3 separate regions of the Homo sapiens genome follow, and regions 2 and 3 are each linked to region 1. The links are contacts of gene promoters, found by promoter capture Hi-C in blood cells and fetal thymus (Javierre and others, 2016). All regions are on one chromosome and are shown on one strand. The core of a region is centred on a gene start or on the middle of the fragment in contact, and the rest is flanking DNA. Distances in the headings are between cores, read along the strand shown.

Region 1 (3,905 bases), core at 230-2,729:
GGTCTCACTAAACATAGAAACCAGCCTCCCTCTTAATCCCCATCCCACGTGTTGAAAACCATAAACTCAAGTTACCACGAATAAAAGGCCATGGAAGAGTGCCCAGATGCCCTTCGGGATGGGATGACCCAGTTAGGAGGTAACAATGTTTGGGGTTGAGATTGTCCCTCTATTAGAAGCAGACAGAGAAAAAGCTATGACCAAAATGTTTGCATGGCTTAATTAAATATCAACAGATATCTCTATTCACTTTAAAGCTCCAGCACACCAGACAAGGGATCCGAGCTCCGGGCAGGAGCCAAAACCACCATTGCAGATATGCTCCCAGTTTTACCAGCTAATTAGATGTTAAACTTACATTGTAACAATCAACCTGATATTATTGCCTACTGCAGATAGAACTAGAATTCTAATTAGGTCAGAATTCTAGCTGGGATTGTGTAGATGGACAAATTCTTTCAGGGTAGTTTGATATCACTGCTATAATTTATGGTAAAGACAGTTGGGATCATACTGGCAAACTAAGTACCTGCCTACACTCCCTCAGGCCTAAAAATGCCATTGATTATCCCAAAAAAACTGAGAAAATAATCCACTACAGTACGGAAAAAGACAAAATAGGGGCACTAACACACAAGAAGCACTGAAGGCTTTCTGAAAGAGTAATCAGGCCTGATGTTTGTAGTTTTAATGTTTACTTTGCAAACAAAGGTAGAAACAGAGTCTGGAGCTCGGATGCCACCACCAGAGAGGGTGGCTGTTCAGCCTCTCTCCTGTGCAAATTAACCTAATTCTGAACCTGTCTTGGTTTAATTCGCACAATTTCAGGTGCCATGCTAGGTACACCACAAATATACCTCAGGGACCTCAATTGCAAAAACCTGGACTGCAAACGTTGGGGCTGCAGAGTTGACTAGGTTAATAAATTCTTTCTGAGGTAAAGCAGATAACACCCACTAATAAAAAGAATGAAACTTCATCGTCCCATTGGCATCCTCGGGTGTGCAGGTGTTCCTCAGAGCAAAGCCCATGGTGTGCCCCATCGCCAATTCGTGACAAGGCAGGGGGCGGGGGGCGGGGGAAGGAAAAAAGCCTGGGATAAGAAATCAGAGAATACAAGTCGCTTTTAAACAAAAAACAGTGACTGTTAGAGTACACCCACCATTGGGGTAACACGCAATAATCTCTCAGCATCACTGACTCCAGCACAGCTGGTCCCCTGGAAAAGGCACGTTGCCGGAAGGTTTTGTGTGTGACCAAGCAATTGGCCATCCCACGCCTTCGCCCTACCAGATGGGTCCCTGCCCCCGGGAGTCCCCTCCCCCTCCACCCTCCAAACCCAGGCAGCGCCCGCCCCTGCCCCCGCTGATTGACAGGCCGTGCAGCTACTCCTGGGAGCCTGGCTTTCGGGGGCAACCCAGGCAGAAGTGACTATCTCTGCAGCAGCCAATAGAAGCCAGGAGGCGGGGCGGGGAAGCGGCGCGGTCAGGTGCTCCGCTCCAGAGTTGAGCGCAGGTGAGCTCCTGCGCGTTCCGGGGGCGTTCCTCCAGTCACCCTCCCGCCGTTACCCGCGGCGCGCCCGAGGGAGTCTCCTCCAGACCCTCCCTCCCGTTGCTCCAAACTAATACGGACTGAACGGATCGCTGCGAGGGTGAGTCCAGGGGCGTGGGTGGCTTCCCTCCCGGGAACCCACACTGCTCCTCTGGGTCCCTAAAGCAACGTCCCCTCCTTGCCACTGCACATCTAAGAAGCCCAGGCCTCGGTGGGCGGGATGACTGGGAATTGGGAACATAACCTACGCCGCGACCATTCTGGGTGGCTAGGATGGAATCCTGGTGGAGAAGATGGACACCCCCGCCCTTGACGTCTACCCGAGCTACACAAACCTACTCCTTCTGCACTTTCCCTCTTCCGTTTAATCGGTGCCCCGTCCTTCCTGCTCTCCAAGTCTGTTTGTGGAGGAAGGGTTGGAGGGGAGAAAGAACTGGAAAGTACTCAATGAAATGTGGAGCCAGATCCAGGGATTCCACTGTTTTGTGCAGCATTTTGTGCACGAAAAAAAAAAAAATTCTGATTGTTTTCATTCCCCACCCCCCACCTCTGTTTATTGCTCTGTGTCATGGATGTGATGTTGAGTCTTCTTGCCAAACATTCCTAAGCTTTAGACAACACTTAATCTTTGCTTACTTTTGTTGGTCCCAAGAAAGCAGTTTTCTCCTGCTTACACATGTGCCGAATTAATTTGCTAAGATAGATGAAAATGAGGTGTTCCATGTAGTTTATTTCCTCTGCTTTTAGCCTTAAATTACATTTGGTTGATACTAGCCTTCCTTGTTTTAAAAAGGTGGGAGAGAAAATTAGGGGGAGAAAGGACAGAGAGAGCAACTACCATCCATAGCCAGATAGGTGAGTAAATATATTTGCAGTAACCTATTTGCTATTCCTTGCTGCAACTGTGTTTAATGTTCCTTCCAGAATCAGAGAGAGTATTGCCATCCAAGAAATCGTTTTTAAATATGACATTTGAGCTATCATCTTGAGACCAATACCTAAAACAATTTCAGTTTAAGAAATGTCTAGGTATGGTGAAAACACAGTTTAAAACCAGCAAAACAGAATTTATTGCCCTCAGCGAATACCCACAATGTACATATACCTTGTATTTCTGAAAGCAAAGCAAGCATGCCAAGTAGTTTTTATTTACCTGTACCTATAATACAGCAAGGTGAAACAGGATATATTTTTGAAGTTTAAAAATGTCTTCAGGCCGGCTGCGGTGGCTCATGCCTGTAATCCCAGCACTTTGGGGAGCCGAGAAGGGTGAATCACCTGAGGTCAGCAGTTTTGAGACCAGGCTGGCCAACATGGCGAAACCCTGTCTCTACTGAAAATACAAAAATTAGCTGGGTGTGGTGGCGGGCGCCTGTAGTCCCAGCTACTTGGGAGACTGAGGCAGGAGAATTGCTTGAACACGGAAGGCGGAAGTTGCAGTAAGCTGAGATCGTGCCACCGCACACCAGCTTGGGCAACAGAGTGAGACTCCCTCTCAAAAAAAAAAAAAAAAGAAGTCTTCAGCTTAGGAAGATATCAAAAGGCAGTTTCAAGAGATTTATTTGTACAAGTGTGGTTTGATCTAAGTTTTGGTGGGTTTATAAATACCTTCATGCAGGAATGGGTAGAAAAATGAGAGAACAAAAGATCCCTGCTGGATGTGCACGCCTGATGAAAACTGACAAAATTTACATATCTATTGTTTATCCATACAGCGTCTTATTAGCTTTCTTCAATAGAATGAAAGTATTTTAGAAATATACACAGATTAGGGGAAAAGACCAGCAACCTTGATTCACAGAGCTTTAAACCAGGGAAGTGCTTTTACTACACCTATCAATGATAAGATTAAATTTTGACAAATTTTAACATTAGGAAAGTCAACAACAAATTTCAGAATTATATTTCTGTTAATATTTAGTTTAGAATCTAATTATTTAGTTCAACGAATGCTGTGATTTGATTATTAATAAATGAATGCAGATTACTTTTCAATAAATATATCTGGATGTCACAAATGTTATTTCACTTCAAGAAACCAAATTCATCTATTTTCCTCTCTCTTTAGTAATACATCTTTTGTCTGTGATTAACCAAACATAGGGGTTGAAAATAGAAGTGTGCATATACATATATATATAATATATATGTATATGCACCATTATTCGATTTGCTAATGATACTTCATTGTTGCTAGGTTGCCATAGTTGCTCTAGCCATAATGTTAAGGATGTTCACAGGTATTTGACTATAAAAAAGTTTCTGACCAGAAGTCAAAAGTCTGGATCAACCTGAAAATGTTTCTAAAAGTTTTATGTAAATGATGTCATATTTTAAAATGCTGTTGAAGAGCT
Region 2 (4,203 bases), core at 1,235-3,734, 450 kb before region 1:
GTTTTCTTTATTACGTAACCTAAGAATAGAAGCAAAACTATTTACCTGAGGAGGAAGTTAATTTTTAAGATGTAAAGCAGTATGATTTTATCTTGTAATACCACAACGAGGAAAGATATGAAATAAGTTTGAGTGGCCAAGAGAGAAAATGTGCAAATATACTATATTCAATAGCATTCAAGTGTGAAAGGACTCAAAAATTTTTTTTCTTTTATTTACTAATTCAGAGCCAAAAAAAGCCAAAAAAAAGGACTTTGTTTTTGACATTGAGTACTCTCATAATTTAGTTTACGGGATGGTTTCCTGCTGCATTTTCCTGGGCTTATTTAAAACTACTGTGTTTCAGTTGCAGAATATAAAATGTGCTAATTCACTTGTATTCTAAGGAAATTAAATCTTAAGAAATGTTTTTGTTTTGGATTAATATTCTTAAGTGTCATAACTAGTTGCTTCTGAAAATTTAATATATGCCTATATAATATTTTGTGTTACTCATTAGTAAAAATAACAACTTTTCTCATTTTTAGTGAAGATAGATGTTTAATCTATTTAAATTATATAGTTAAATTATAGTGACAAAATAAAAATTTAAATCTGGCTTCTTGGAGATATATTACATATCTCTTATTAATAATATCTAGTTGTTTTCAAAATATGCTTTCTACTAATGTGCTCTTAAGGTTAATTTAAACATCATCCTTTTTAAAAAATATATGTATGGCTAATACTAAATATGCTTTTGTTCACCTTCAAAGAAGTTCATATTTTTGATATATGTTTTTCTTTTTAAGGTTGCATTTTGGACACTTGCATACGTCCTTTCTCATCCTGATATCCACAAGGCCATTATGGAAGGCATATCTTCTGTGTTTGGCAAAGCAGGTACTAAACCTTATTATATAGGAAGACACAGCTAATAATGCATGTTTGTCACACATTATTGGCAAAGCTAAATACCTATAATTTTATAAAAATTCAACATAATCCAAAATTCAACATAATTTGTTATATATCAGGATATAAATTGATCAGGTAGAATCCTAGAGTTTAATTACTGTCAAGCATATTTTTGTGCAACTCCTTCATTTTCCAAATGATGAAATCAGTGCTATAGAGATTGTGATTTGCCTAATTTCCTTACTTAAATATATATACACCTGTTTGTTCTTCTAATGTCTTGGATCCTCACCTCAATTGAATGAATGTCCACAGTTTTCAAGTTCAGGATTTTTCAGATTTTATAAAAGTAATAAGGGTATATTCCATATATTACATAAGAGCCCTAATAGGACTGTAGAGGTCAGGTAAGGCTTGCTACCAAAGGATTATTAAAAGACAACAAACAAAAAACAAGTAAACAAAAAGAAATAAAAAAACCCTTATGGTTGTTAGAAATTTGAGGATTTAGGAGCTGCAAATAGGGATTGTTGCCTTGAACTCTTTAGTTCAGATGTCAGCTGTTTATTTATCATCTCTTTTAAAAAGCAAATACAAGCTTGAATAGAGAGTACTCAACTACTTGTTTATTCAGCATAATTTGACCAATCTGGGGAGTTGACTTTTTTAAACTTCTTAATATGTCGTATTATGTATCCTGATATAAAAAGAATAAGAAATGATAGGGTTTTCTTGGAAGAAAACAATATAATATTAGGGCAAAAGGTATGATGCCAGTTAATGGTTTTCCCTCTCCCTTCCATGATTACTGAAAATATTTTATTTAAAGTTTTTTTTTTTGGATTGCTTCTTATGGAGTTAAACCAAAAAGTAAACTGGCTTGGCAACCATGAATATCTAAGTAATATTGTCTGAGCCTTGAGTATGCGTCAGCAGATGCTGGACCTTATAGAAATGGTGAGCATCATTATCATTGAATGCCAACAATGCTAACAGGTTAGATTCTGGAAAGACACTGGTGAATATAAGAGAAGACAACTGGCCTTTGTGCAGCTTGCATCTACAAAACAAATAGAAAGGCACATGCCCACATGTCTACAAATGGAAAAAGGCAATGCACTCTTGATTGTCACATATTCTCCTTTATCATTTCCTTACTAGAGTCTTTTCCTGACTTAGGGTACTCCAAATTTGTGGCTTTAGGAAATAAAAGAGTAGAGAGGGGATGATGGGGATAACGTGGGGGGTCCTCTCTGACCCAAAGGCCACAACAGAAGTGTAACATTAATCTAAATTTCTACAAGGCTTGATTCTAGAACTCTTGAACCCAGTTCTAGTGGAGAAAGATTAAAACCTTTTTGCTTTTTCTATGTTATTGTTTATTTTTAAAACCCATTGTTCTCTTCTGACACAAAAAATGCTCCTTCGAATAGTACTACCACTGCAACAGCTACATTATATGGATGCTTTCAGTCTATAAGACACTACTGCAGAATTGAAAACTATTTATGAAAGACATCAAACTTTTTTTTTAACCATACTTATACAGAAGCTATTCAATAATCCATACATAAGATCTAGTAGCAGCTCAGGAATTTAAATGTTGTGAGAGGAGTCCACAGATCTTTGGAAGCTGATATCAAGGAAGATATCCATGTGTCCATACAAAGGATTCTGTCAAGGAAGGAACATTTAAGTACATTCGATTAGTCAGGATTCTCCAGAGAAATGGAACCAATTAGGATGTAAATAGATACATAGATAAAGAGAGAGAGAAAACTCAAAAGACATTTATTATAAAAAATTGGCTGACCTGACTATGGAGGCTGAGGAGTCCCATGATGTGCTGTTGATGCAGGCTCTCAGTGGATTGGATGGTGCACACTTACATTAGGGAGGGAAGCCTACTTTACTGAGCCCACGAATTCAAATACTCATCTGTCATCCAGAAACACCCTCACAGACACACCCAGAATAATGGTTAAACTGAATACCCCATGGCCAGTCAAGTTAACATATAGAATTAACCATCATCTAGGCATCATCTAATCTGTTGAGTTTTGTTTCTCTGGAGAACCCTGAGTAAATTTACCCACCCACATATAGGAGGGCAGTCTGCCCTACTCAGTCTACTGATTGAAATGCTAATATCAACTAGTAATACCCTCACAGACACACCCAGAAATAATGTTTAGTCAAATATCTGGGCACCCCCGATCCAGTCAAGTTACATGTACAAATTATCATCACAGGCATGGAACAGGAATCTGACTCAGCACAGCAGTTTTTCTGTTCTATGCTCTTGTCTCCCGCAAGATCACCATTTCCTTCTTGGGAAAGTCTTTTATGAATTTCCAATGCTGTATCTCTGTGGCTTCAACACTCACTTCTAGGCACTTTGCCCAACTTTCTTATAAAACAAATCTCAGGGTAAAAACTACTATTGAATACTTGCGAAAGGAAAGGGTCAGACTCATACCACTTTTCTAAAGGCAGTTAGTTCTTGAACTATCTTGATAGCTGCCTTTCAGCCTACTCTTGTGTTCTCTATTTGTTTACTTTAAAATGAAAGCTTTTTGGGGCTCCTTTGTGAAGATGCTTGCTTAGCCCCAATTATTTTGGGTGGTGCTTTTCATTATTCTACTTCCTCTAACTAATCCTGTACACCTTCTATCTAAGTCTTTATTATCTAAGTCTTTATTATCTTCCTAAGTCTTCATTATCTGCTTCTTCCTTTTCTTGTTTTACAGCTGTGTTTTTATTTTTTAATTGCACACTTTTTAATTTACTTTTTAGCAACAGGGTCTCACTTTGTCACCTGGAGTACAGTGGAATGATCATAGCTCACTACAGCCTCGAGCTCCTGGGCTCAAGTGATCCTCCTGCCACAGCCTCCTGAGTAGCTAGGACCACAAGTGTGTGCCAGCATATTGGGCTTCATTTTTTTTAATGGGACATTGGGGCAGAGGAAGGTAGAAGTGCGTTCTCAGGTTGTCATCTTGAGCTATAAGTTTGTGTGCATGTAACATGCATCAACTTATAAATAAAATTATATATATATAATCATAGATAATTAACATACCATAAAATTTATCCTTTCAAAGTGTGAAATGTAGTAGTTTTTAGTATATTTATAAGATTGCAACCATCAACACTGTCTAGTCCCAGAACATTTTTATCACCTTCAAAATAAATCCCATACCCATTAGGAGTCACTTTCTGTTTCCTTCTATTTCTAGCTTCTGACGACCATTAATTTACTTATTGTCCTGACACATTTGCCTTTTGTGGACAGTCCATATAAAT
Region 3 (3,674 bases), core at 1,135-3,634, 480 kb before region 1:
AAGGGTCATAAGCTCAATATCCTTTCAATTAAAGCATATATGGAATTATTTTTCCAGCACTAAATTATATGCATCGCCTACTCATGGCCTCCTTACAAGTACTAACTGTATTTTGGAAAAATTTTTTGGTTTTAAGTTTTAAATTAGATACAGACCTTTTACCTTAATACAGTTAAGCTAAACGGCCTACATAAGGAAGATAGAGCTCATAACCTTATACAGAAAACGTCCTGAATAATTAAAATAATAACATTCAGACAAGTTCATGAACATTACTTACATTATATAAGACTTTTCAATGACCACCACCTGACACAAAACCTTAGTATACCTTTTCCAAGAGAAAACAATGTGGGGAAGGGAAGTGAATATTAAATCTTACCACTGGTTTTTGGAAAAGTTAGTATCTTGCTGACAGTTTCCCTAGAACAGAAGTAGCTTGCATAGACTTCAAGCAATATTTTATTGACATATGAAACCTGAAAAATCTTAATAGATTTCTCCATATTACACAGATTATGTCTTTCAAAATAAGTTTTGTTTTCTCGCTGGTTTGTTAAATGATGCTTCAGGTTCCTGAAGTGGTTTGTACTTAAAACCATCCCACATTTTGATTCCCATCCATTCTCCACACACAATTCTCTCCATGAATTTTTAACGAGGAATAGTCCTGTATAAAAGCCATTGAGTCAGAGGGGGACACATCAATTAAAAATAAAACCTGGAAATATCATTCAGCAATCTGCTTTTAGATCTTTTTAAGCTGATGAATTTTATTTCAGTAAAAACAATGAAAAGTAAAAATTCTCCATCATTTTCGAAAGGAGAGACATTAAAAAATAGAGGGGCTAAAAGGCAAAAATGGAAGAGCACGAAACAACTGATCATGGCTGGCTATGCTAGAATTAAAAAATAAACTCTTAAAATAGGACCAACTAACATTTACAAATGATAACGCATCAGAACTGTTCTTTTTATTTTTTTGTAACAGGCAAGAAAATGTAAGGGTAATCTTAAAATACACAGTTAAGGCTTCACAGGAAACACATGAGTATACTACTCACAAAATCCTTGGAATAAACGCTACTTGCTCATTCAAGGGCATCATCATTCCACTCTAGATGGCCTCTTAAAGTTTTTTCTTACTCATGTAGGCAGATGTAACTGCTCTTCTATGCTTTTATGACACCTAATAATATCTTCATTATAACAAGTAGCACATTATAATTGTCTTTCTCTGTCTCCCCAGCAGCCTGTAAGAAGGTCAGAACTGGGTCTTTTCAAATATATATCCACAGTCCCTGGTATTGTAGGAATTATAAAAATGTCGCAACTAATGGGTGTCCTGCCTTGGGTTTAGCAATCATATATTATTGACTTCTCAGAATCCTGCAAGGTAAACAGTATAGATGAATTACACTCAAAGAGGTCAAGTAGTCGATGCTCTGTGAGTGGCAGGTTAATAACGGAAGTCCCACAAGGTAGGTCCACAACTTGGACCCACAAGATAATGACAGTGTGGCTGTGTAAGACTATAAACCACAGAGATGATCTCAGTAAGGATGGAAAACAGATTACGTTTTTAAAAAGGTCATCCTCATGAAAAGGAAAATGATTCCTACAGAGGAATGACAGCTCGCGAAGCTTCTTAAAGTACAACATTCAAGCACCACAGCACATGCCTAAGGGAAGCATTAGAAGAGATTAGAAGGAAAAGGCCGTGGAGACCTCAATCCCTCCTCCTCCCACCGCGGGCCTGGCCTCCACCGCCACCTCTGCCAGGCGGGCATGGAAGGGGCGACCTCTCCGATGCGCACTGCCGGGCGCGAAGCCGCCCGCGCACCCTCCCCCAGCGCGGCGCGTGCCACTGGCCCGGGAGGCCCAGGCGTGGGCAGCCGGGTACCTAGCTCGGCCACGGTAGCCGCGCAGCCGGACAGTAGGAATTTGCTCGCTCGGGGCCATCTCTGGGTCAGCGGCAAAAGCCTCTCCTCCTCCTCCGGGACGGACATTCAGCAGTAGCGCAAGACGATAACGCACTCCTTCTCGCCGCTGCGCTGCACCGCGCCGCGGCGGCCGCTTCCCTGCCAGGGCGGCCCCTTTTCAACCGGCGAGTGGCCGGGTGAGGACCATTTCCCTCGTTCGGCTCGGCCGGGTGGACCCGCAACCTTCCTAGCAGTCCCAGCTGGAGTGGTCCAGCTGCCCCTTACACCCCAGAATAGAAAAACACAGCGGAGCCCAGGAGGTTACTGGGCAATGTAGTCCGCCGGGCTCCGCTACGTCTCTGATTGGCCGGCCGCGGGTCCCTCTGCGGCTCCGCCCCCGGCCTCCATGGCAACGCGGCTGGTTCTCGCCCGTCAGTCCTAGCCCGGCCCTGCCCCTCCTTGCATTTTTTCCGCGCTGGCTGAGATTCAAAGAGAAGTGGAGGTGGGAGGGAGCGACAATGGAAAAATCACCTGAAAACTGGGACAGAGGAAGGAAGCTACAGTTACGAAGGAGAGCTGCAAAAGTTGCAGCAGAAAGGTTGGGAGTCCCGACAGGTTCCGTAGCCCACAGAAAAGAAGCAAGGGACGGCAGGACTGTTTCACACTTTTCTGCTTCTGGAAGGTGCTGGACAAAAACATGGAACTAATTTCCCCAACAGTGATTATAATCCTGGGTTGCCTTGCTCTGTTCTTACTCCTTCAGCGGAAGAATTTGCGTAGACCCCCGTGCATCAAGGGCTGGATTCCTTGGATTGGAGTTGGATTTGAGTTTGGGAAAGCCCCTCTAGAATTTATAGAGAAAGCAAGAATCAAGGTATGTGGTCGTGGCAGACGGGGTCTCCAGAGGAGACAATGCTTTCTTTTTTAAACTTTCTTTCATTGACTCTTAAGTGCAGGGCTAGAACACGGGGAACATACCTGCTTGCCTCAACTAAAGGATCTAGTCATTTCTGAATTCCTCTACTAACAATTAACAACAATATCCTGTGCAAAATTTTGCGAAAGAAATGAAATACAATTGCAGCGTGCATCGACATTTTTGGAAGTAGAGATTAACTTTTCGTATTTTTACTTCATCGAAGTTAAGTTCCAAATGTGTATGTGTTAAGTAAATGTTTTCAGTAATTGGGAAAGATAAAGTGTAATCCAATTTAAGTTTGTGAAAATGAGTAATTCGTATCCAAATTGGAGTTAACACCAAAGTATTGTACAAATTGCTTGCACAGTTGGTCCGTACACAATAAACAGGCTCTGTATTTTTAGCTGACGTTGTTATTTGATGATGATGTACTCCATTTTCACTACGGCCTGAAGAGACTAGTAATCCTCCTTGTAGTAGATGTTTTTGTCTTGAAAGTATCTTTTAAATGTCTGAGCACTTTAAGGAACAGACCTTTATTAATGTCTTTTAAGTTTTATTCAATTTCCAGTCACAAATATTTTATGGTATTTGATTGTCTAATAAATTTGTATGATATTATAATTATTCTTATGAATTATAATACTTTCTGTGGTGACCCATTTTCCATCTGGTTAGCCCAATTTGTAGAATGAATTTATACGTAGTAGCATTATTTTACCACTGATCATTTGCCTTCAAAATCTCTGAGATTCCAATTTAGTAAAAAACATATAGAAAATTAAAGAGAACTAAGATGAAAATAAAAATAACCCAGAATATCACACCAGCTG

Evidence for each region. The method cuts DNA at HindIII sites, captures the fragments that hold promoters and counts their contacts. A CHiCAGO score of 5 or more calls a contact.
Region 2: a fragment that was not itself captured here is called in contact with the fragment with the promoter of ENPP5 in region 1 in 1 of 17 cell types (naive B cells); the score reaches 5.7 in naive B cells.
Region 3: the fragment with the promoter of CYP39A1 here is called in contact with the fragment with the promoter of ENPP5 in region 1 in 3 of 17 cell types (naive B cells, non-activated CD4 T cells and total B cells); the score reaches 5.9 in naive B cells.

The regions. Positions count from the first base shown.
Region 1 is chr6:46,168,554-46,172,458 of GRCh38, reverse strand. It overlaps ENPP5 (ectonucleotide pyrophosphatase/phosphodiesterase family member 5), which reads left to right and starts at 1,479. Exons shown (of 5, transcript NM_001290072.2): 1 at 1,479-1,651; 2 at 2,345-2,406. RefSeq lists a silencer at 1,248-1,307. The HindIII fragment of the contact is 3,442 bases long and covers 1-2,161 here.
Region 2 is chr6:46,622,097-46,626,299 of GRCh38, reverse strand. It overlaps CYP39A1 (cytochrome P450 family 39 subfamily A member 1), which reads left to right. Exons shown (of 12, transcript NM_016593.5): 7 at 792-882. Among named protein-coding and RNA genes, the nearest start is that of CYP39A1, 29 kb to the left of the region's middle. The HindIII fragment of the contact is 1,974 bases long and covers 1,498-3,471 here.
Region 3 is chr6:46,651,528-46,655,201 of GRCh38, reverse strand. CYP39A1 (cytochrome P450 family 39 subfamily A member 1) reads left to right here and starts at 2,384. Exons shown (of 12, transcript NM_016593.5): 1 at 2,384-2,796. The coding sequence starts at 2,620. It overlaps SLC25A27 (solute carrier family 25 member 27), which reads right to left and starts at 2,227. Exons shown (of 9, transcript NM_004277.5): 1 at 1,904-2,227. The coding sequence starts at 2,009. RefSeq lists silencers at 1,790-1,889, 2,320-2,409 and enhancers at 2,070-2,199, 2,430-2,479. The HindIII fragment of the contact is 2,676 bases long and covers 1,647-3,674 here.